Linked DNA regions of Homo sapiens: region 1 is linked to region 2. The links are contacts of gene promoters, found by promoter capture Hi-C in blood cells and fetal thymus (Javierre and others, 2016). All regions are on one chromosome and are shown on one strand. Each heading gives the region's core, a stretch centred on a gene start or on the middle of the fragment in contact. The rest is flanking DNA. Distances are from core to core; before and after follow the strand shown.

What was found. The method cuts DNA at HindIII sites, captures the fragments that hold promoters and counts their contacts. A CHiCAGO score of 5 or more calls a contact.
Region 1: a contact is called between a fragment that was not itself captured here and the fragment with the promoter of NUP98 in region 2, in 4 of 17 cell types (total CD8 T cells, total CD4 T cells, naive CD4 T cells and 1 more). The highest score is 7.7, in total CD8 T cells.

The regions. Positions count from the first base shown.
Region 1 is chr11:4,133,307-4,136,922 of GRCh38, reverse strand. It overlaps RRM1 (ribonucleotide reductase catalytic subunit M1), which reads right to left. Exons shown (of 19, transcript NM_001033.5): 17 at 3,265-3,360; 18 at 1,653-1,841. Among named protein-coding and RNA genes, the nearest start is that of RRM1, 40 kb to the right of the region's middle. The HindIII fragment of the contact is 635 bases long and covers 1,921-2,555 here.
Region 2 is chr11:3,795,585-3,798,940 of GRCh38, reverse strand. NUP98 (nucleoporin 98 and 96 precursor) reads left to right here and starts at 1,387. Exons shown (of 33, transcript NM_016320.5): 1 at 1,387-1,541. It also overlaps a transcript of PGAP2 not described here. RefSeq lists silencers at 1,371-1,540, 1,621-1,710. The HindIII fragment of the contact is 2,489 bases long and covers 1-2,419 here.

The sequences.
Region 1 (3,616 bases), core at 989-3,488, 340 kb before region 2:
GGAAGGCCGCAGGGTCCTCTGCCTAGGAAAACCAGAGACCTTTGTTCACTTGTTTATCTGCTGACCCTCCCTCTACTATTGTCCTATGACCCTGCCAAATCCCCCTCTGTGAGAAACACCCAAGAATGATCAATAAAAATAAATAAATAAATAAATAAAAAGAAAAAACAAACAAACAAACAAACAAAAAAATACATTCCTGGCTGGGCGCTGTGGCTCATGCCTGTAATCCCCCAAGAGGGGTAGTACATGCCTATAAATTTCAGCTACTCAGGAGGCTGAGGTTGCAGTGAGCCAAGACTGTATCATTGCACTCCAGCCTGGGCAACAGAGCGAGACTCCGTCTAAAAAAGTATAAAATAAAATAAAACAATAATATTAAAATAAAATAAAATACATTCCTGGCCAGGCACAGTGGCTCACACCTGTAATTCGAGCACTTTGGGAGGCCGAGGCAGGTGAATTGCTTGAGGCCAGGAGTTTGAGACCAGCCTGGCCAACATGGCAAAACCCCATCTCTAATAAAAATACAAAAATTAGCCAGGTGTGTTGGCACACACCTGTGATCCTAGCTACTCAGGAGGCTAAGACATGAGAATCACTTGAACCCAGGACAGAGGTTGCAGTGAGCCAAGATCATGCCGCTGTACTCCAGCCGGGGCAACAGAGTGAGTCTCTGTCTCAAAATACATACATACATACATAAAATAAAATACATTCCCATGAACCAGATCAAACTTTTTTTAAACTTGGAATTCTATCTCCTCTAGGAGTACTCTCAAAAATGCTTTGTGAGTCAGACAGAAATATCCTGTTCTTTTCACTCCTAAAACAGGCTTATCTCTTTGGAAAGGTCAAACATTTTTATTCTTTTGTCTTTGTTTTTATGCATATGACTTCCAGGTTTGCCCAAGACAATATGTCTGCCTTAGGTTATAACTGTTTAGAGAGCTAGACTGTGTCTCTGTGTAACAACAGACTATAAGACTTCAAAGATAAAGATCATCATCTTCTATTCAGTATCCTCAGTCCTGGCACATACTAGATGTTCAATAAATGTTAAATTAAAAAACAAATTTATAATTCTACTTAAATACCCAATACATTATCAGGGAATAAGAACATAATCCAAAATCACCAGACTTTACAGCTGGCAACGACTAGCTAAGTAAGCTGGCTTTCACTTTATAAAGTGAGAAAACAATGGATGTTTTTGAATAGCGGGTTGACGTGTGCAAAGTTTTATCTGAGGAATGGTGGTAATGCACACAAAATGGCTGGGAGCAGAGATCCTAGAAGCAATAAGGTCAGTTTAGAATAACAGCAGCAGAAAAGGAAGGAAGATATTTAAGAAATAATACAAAGGAACAATCAACACAACTTGGTAATTGTACGGACAGTAAAGGAAGGAAAGCATCACAGGTAACTACAAGGTTTCAAACCTAAGAAGGAAATAAACCTAACAGAAACAAGAAAATCCAAGGCAAGACCCTGTTCTGGTACAAAAACCATGGGTTGGTTTTAACGTTCTGGATTTGAACTTAAAGAACTTCTAGGTGATAATATTTAATAGGTGGCTAAAACATAAAATCATTCCAATGCCAAAATATCTCAAGCTGGCAATTAAGTACTCCTTGATATTCTCTACCAACCTGCTTCCAGCCGTAGAAGTGCATACTAGTGAGTTTGCCATAGTTAGGCTCAGCAATGTGGATGTTCAAAGATTGGCTTTGATCAATGAAAGCACCTCTCTCAGCTGCCATCTTGAGAACAGTTTTCTGAGAGATTTCCCACACAGTTTTATAAAGTTGCTTCAGGTCATCAGGAATTTCTGGTATGCTCTAAAGAAGGAAAACCCAATGTTTACTTTACTCCAGTTAAAGAAAGCAGTGTATGATTAATAGAATAGTGACACAAGCTTTGATCTTCATTTTACTTCCTGCCAGATCTGACCTTACCATTCAGTATCATATGATATGATCCTTATCAAGTTTACCAAGACTATTTAGAAAGTTGAACAAAACCCCCATCTAACCAACCAAATATCAATCTGGTGATAGTAATTTCAGCATCCCTTTTTTGTTGGTCATAAACCAATTTTTTAATTTTTTAATTGATTTATGACCCAAACATTCATTCTTCTAGAGGCACTTAAAGAAAGGAAAAGTCAGAGCTAAGCAGCAATAAATGACCCTTGAGTTTTGCAGAAAACACAAAAAATAAGGGCTGTAATTCACAGGGACCAAGGGAAGCAATGAGATAAAACCCTTTAAATAAGCTAGGATTTCAAACTCCCTTTGGAATCCAAAATCAGGTTTTCTTAGGCCTAGGGTTAACTTTCATTAAAACACACAGACTGGCTAATGCTACAGTTTCTGTCATTAAATATGGAACTGTTATAGGACTCTTCATCTGTGTTGCTAAGCAGACCAACATTTAGCCAGACACCTCTATCTGCAAATAAATGCCTCTTGACTCTTAGTTGCAAATATTTACACGATTTGTGACTCTGTCTTTTGGACTATCAGTCGTCAACCATGATTTTTAATTAAGCTTGACTCTCTTAATTTCAGTCTTTCTATCTATGATCCCCCAAATTTTGATATACTTTGGAATCACCAAAAGAATCTTTAAAAATTATTGATGTCTGAGGCCAGGCACGGTGGCTCATGCATGTAATCCTAGCACCCTGGGAGGCCAAGGCAGGCGGATCACCTGAGGTCAGGAGCCTGGCCAATATGGTGAAACCCTGTCTCTACTAAAAATACAAAAAACAGCCGGGCGTGGTGGCAGGCACCTGTAATCCCAGCTACTTGGGAGGCTGAGGCAGGAGAATCGCTTGAACCTAGGAGGCAGAGGTTGCAGTGAGCCATGATTCCACCACTGCACTCCAGCCTGGGCGACAGAGACTTCGTCTCAAAAAAAAAAAAAAAAAAAAAAAATTGATGTCTGGTTCCTGTTCCTAGACATTTAATTGGTAAGGAATGCAACCTAAGCTTCAGGATTTTAAAAGCTCCCCAGTTGATTCTAAGATGCAGAAAAATTGAGAACTACTTTTTTATATTATTGCATAAAAACAAGATGGTAAGGGTTATGTAAAGATGTGTACAATCCTAGCACAACAATGCAGAGGTGAACAGAGCTACACAAGCAAAACCTAGATGAACACAATGAAGTCATTCTCTCCATTGTCTAGCATGAGTGAGGAGGTACCACAATGTCCAACTCAGCCCCTGCAGAGCACACTTCATTTTCATTCTATACCTGAATAGAGCCATTGCATGCAATAATCTGGTTTTTCATCTCTTCATGCCATAGGCCCCGCTCGGTAAGATCTTTCAATAAGTGAGGATTTACAATCTGAATGGAAAAGCAGAAAATGTATGAAGAAATAAATAACAGTGACTGCTTAGAAAAGACTACAGCTTTGAAGCTTAAACTAAAATCACTTAAGAGTTATTTAATGCTAGATTGCTTGGTAAATTCTATCTTTTATAAAGACGAGACATCAATGCCACCACACGAAAGCTATATTCCTTTAAGATCTTGACATCTGTTATTCAAGAAACAATATAATTAGCCAGGCATGGTGGCGCAGCATGCCTGTAATCCCAGC
Region 2 (3,356 bases), core at 138-2,637:
CTGGGCGCGGTGGCTCACGCCTGTAAGGCCAGCACTGTGGGAGGCCGAGGCGGGCGGATCACCTGAGTTCCGGAGTTCGAGACCAGCCTGGCCAACATGGTGAAACCCCATCTCTACTAAAAATACAAAATCAGCTGGGCGCGGCGGCGAGTGCCTGTAATCCCAGCTACTCGGGAGGCTACGACAGGAGACTCTCTTGTACCTGGGAGGCGGAGATTGCAGTGAGCCGAGATCGTGCCACTGCACTCCAGCCTGGGAGAAAGAGGAGACAGAGCAAGACTCCATCTCAAAAAAAAAAAAAAAAATTAGTTCATGGGCGAGGTGGCTCACGTCTGTAATCCCAGCACTTTGGGAGGCCGAGGCGGGTGGATCACTTGAGATCAGGAGTTCGAGACCAGCCTGACCAACACAGTGAAATCCCCGTCTCTACTATAAATACAAAAATTAGCTGGGCCTGGTGGCGGACGCCTGTAATCCCAGCTACTTGGGAGGCTAAGGCGGGAGAATCGCTTGAACCCGGGAGGCAGAGGTTGCAGTGAGCCGAGATTGCGCCAATGCACTCCACCCTAGGCGACAACGCGAGACTTCATCTCAAAAGAAAAAGAAAAAAAAAGAATTAGGGGTTCTCCACGTGCAGCTGGGAAAGACGTTCCAACAATCCTCATTTGTACCAGGCCCTTTGGTGGGCCAGTCCCTTAGGGCATCTCTAATGCTCCTAATGTCCATCCTAGAAATTCAGGGAGGGAAAGAAAGTGCTGGGGCGAGCATGGGTCAGGAGAGAATAGGGTCAGGATTTAGGGCCCTGAAGAAGCCTCGGGCAAACTCTTTGGACAGACAGACCTTCCAAGAGGGCCCTCAGGCTCCGCACGTGGTCTGGGCGGGAAGTGCGGGCAGAGAGACTAGGAAGCCTTCCCAGCAGCGCCGGCGGACCGGGGCAAGGAAAGGGTCGAATAGTTACCATGCCATTCTGGGGCCGTCCCTCTGATTGGCCCGAGCTCCCTCAGCCCGAGTCGCGGCGCTCCAAGGAAGGGGGCGGAGTCTCTATGTTGCGTCACCACCCTTCCCGACACCCCGCCGGTGCTTCCCAATCTAGCCATTCACAAGCCCACTTCGAGAGGCCCTGTGTGACGTCACGACACGCTCCCGCCAACCGCGGCGGCGAGGGGCGGGACTCCACGGCCCTCTCACCGCTCCTACCCTGTGCCTCCCCGAACTCCTTCTGCCCCTCCTCTTCCCTCTCGCCCCTTCCCCCTTCAGTTCGGTTTCAAAAGACGCGTTGCCCAATGAATAACAGGGTCGACCCAGAGTGGCGGCCGCGTCCACCAATTCGCGGACGGCGAGGGCGGAGCGTCCGCAACGAGCCTCTGACGCCGGGCGGCGTGTGACGCAGTCGGGCCCTCTGCGCGCTGCGCCCGAAGCGGCGGTCGGTGGCAGGGGTGGTAGCGGCGGCGGCGACGGTTTCGTGGGGGCCGCGCGCTGCTCTGTGAGCGGCGGGTGGCAGCAGGGGACTCCTGACACTTCCCCTTCCCCACCGAACCGCGGTAAGTCGGGAGCCCGAGCTGCAGCGGCCGAGACCGGCAGGTTTCTCCCCCCTTCCGGGCGGGCGGACGCGCGGGGCGTCTCAGGGCCTCTCCGCTTCGAAGTCTAGCGCCGCTGCGCGCACCTTCTGGCCTGAGAGAGGGGCGGTGCTGAGGACCCGGGGGCCCGGAGCCCGGGAGGCCCGGCTTTGGAGGCCCTGGGAGAGAATGGACATCAGTGGGGTCTAGGCCTGGAGGTCTCCAGTTGCTGCCCACGCGAGTGGGTGTCTGTCTGGTTGTACTCATTCATTCAGTGGTGTAAGGACCCCACGGTGGGCTGGCCTTTCCGGGGTCAGCGCCTTGAAACCCTGAATACGGTCTGCCCCGCACTTCCTTGACCGTCATGTGGGACTGGGCTTTATTTGCCTTGGCTTCTCCATAAGGGAAGTGGGCACCCCGAGGATTAGGGTGAGTCCGAAGTTTGGGAGATTTTTAAGATAATATCTGAGAATAGGAGTCGGTTCGGTGGAGCAAAAGGTTCTTTTCTATTTTCCCACGTGTTCAGTGTAAAGCCAGATGAGGAGACAGATTGAGTTTCTGGATTACTATAGCCATAAGGACTTTAGAAATTGTTTAAGTCAATCCCCCTACCTTACATCAGTTTTGTAGATGGGGAAACCGAGGCCCGGAGTAACAGGCAGGATTAGCCAATGCCAGATTTTTGACAGTCTAAACAGTTTTCTACTACCTCACCCTCCCTGGATATTTCAGTCTCCCATTATTAAGAATTCCCTTTAGGAGGTCGGTGCGGCATGGACATTAGGTAGCTAAACGTAGATGTAGTCTTCACAGCGTTTTCCGTTTAGTTGCTACCAGCTCTGTTCACGGGTAAGGTGGAAGCTTCGTTAGTGGTACCCTAACCTAGAGCTTGAGAACTAAACTTAGAAGATGGTTAAAGAACGTCAGCGTTGTTATGTATCGGAAACAAATCGGTAAAACTACAAGCCATTGTTTCCCTTTCTAAATCTGAATTTTTTGACTTGTGTCAGCTGATGAGGACTCGGAGTCAGTTAGGGATTTATAACAGTACTGGAATAGAAAGCAGGAAATATTGATAAGACTTAGAAAGCCAGGTAGGAGTCCGTTTGTAGTAGTTGTACCTCGGAACTCATGGCTCCTTTCAGGTACAGAATTCAAAGTGAAGTATTATAGTAGAATAAGGTGAGGAAATAAAACTCCGTTTTGGAGGAAGAAGCTAACTGGAATAAAGAGCAAAAAGAGAGCAGTGATCATTCCCTGTGACGGTCTTACAAATTCGAAAAGAAACTCGAGTTAACTGGGTTACAGTATGTTTACCTGGTGGAGGAAGTTAGGGTATTTAAAAACCAAAACTAGAGGTTGGACAGGATAAAGGTACTGGGAAATACTTGGGTAAAATTATTCTTTTTGACTCTTCAGATTTGATGAAATTGAATTAGTTGACACTTGGTTCTGTACACATCAGTAAGATTGTTACTTTGTTCTTGTATAGATGACAAAGCATAAACTCAGAACTAGTAGTGCAGAAGAGAACCGTAGTCTAAATAGTAAAGCGTGAACAGGGTATGTTTTCCGTGACATTTTCTCAGTTCAGGCATCACCCTCTTCTGGGAAGCTTTTCTTGGCATTCTCTTCTCTGCAAGCTTCCATAACACTTATTTGATATTTCTATTTATAGCACATATCATTTTTATTTTAGCTGTTTTTTTAATTAGGCTGGTAAAATATTTTCATCTTATCTTTGTTGTCCAGTTGCTTGCCACATAGTAGGCCCTCAGTAAGTGTGTTTACTTGAATGAA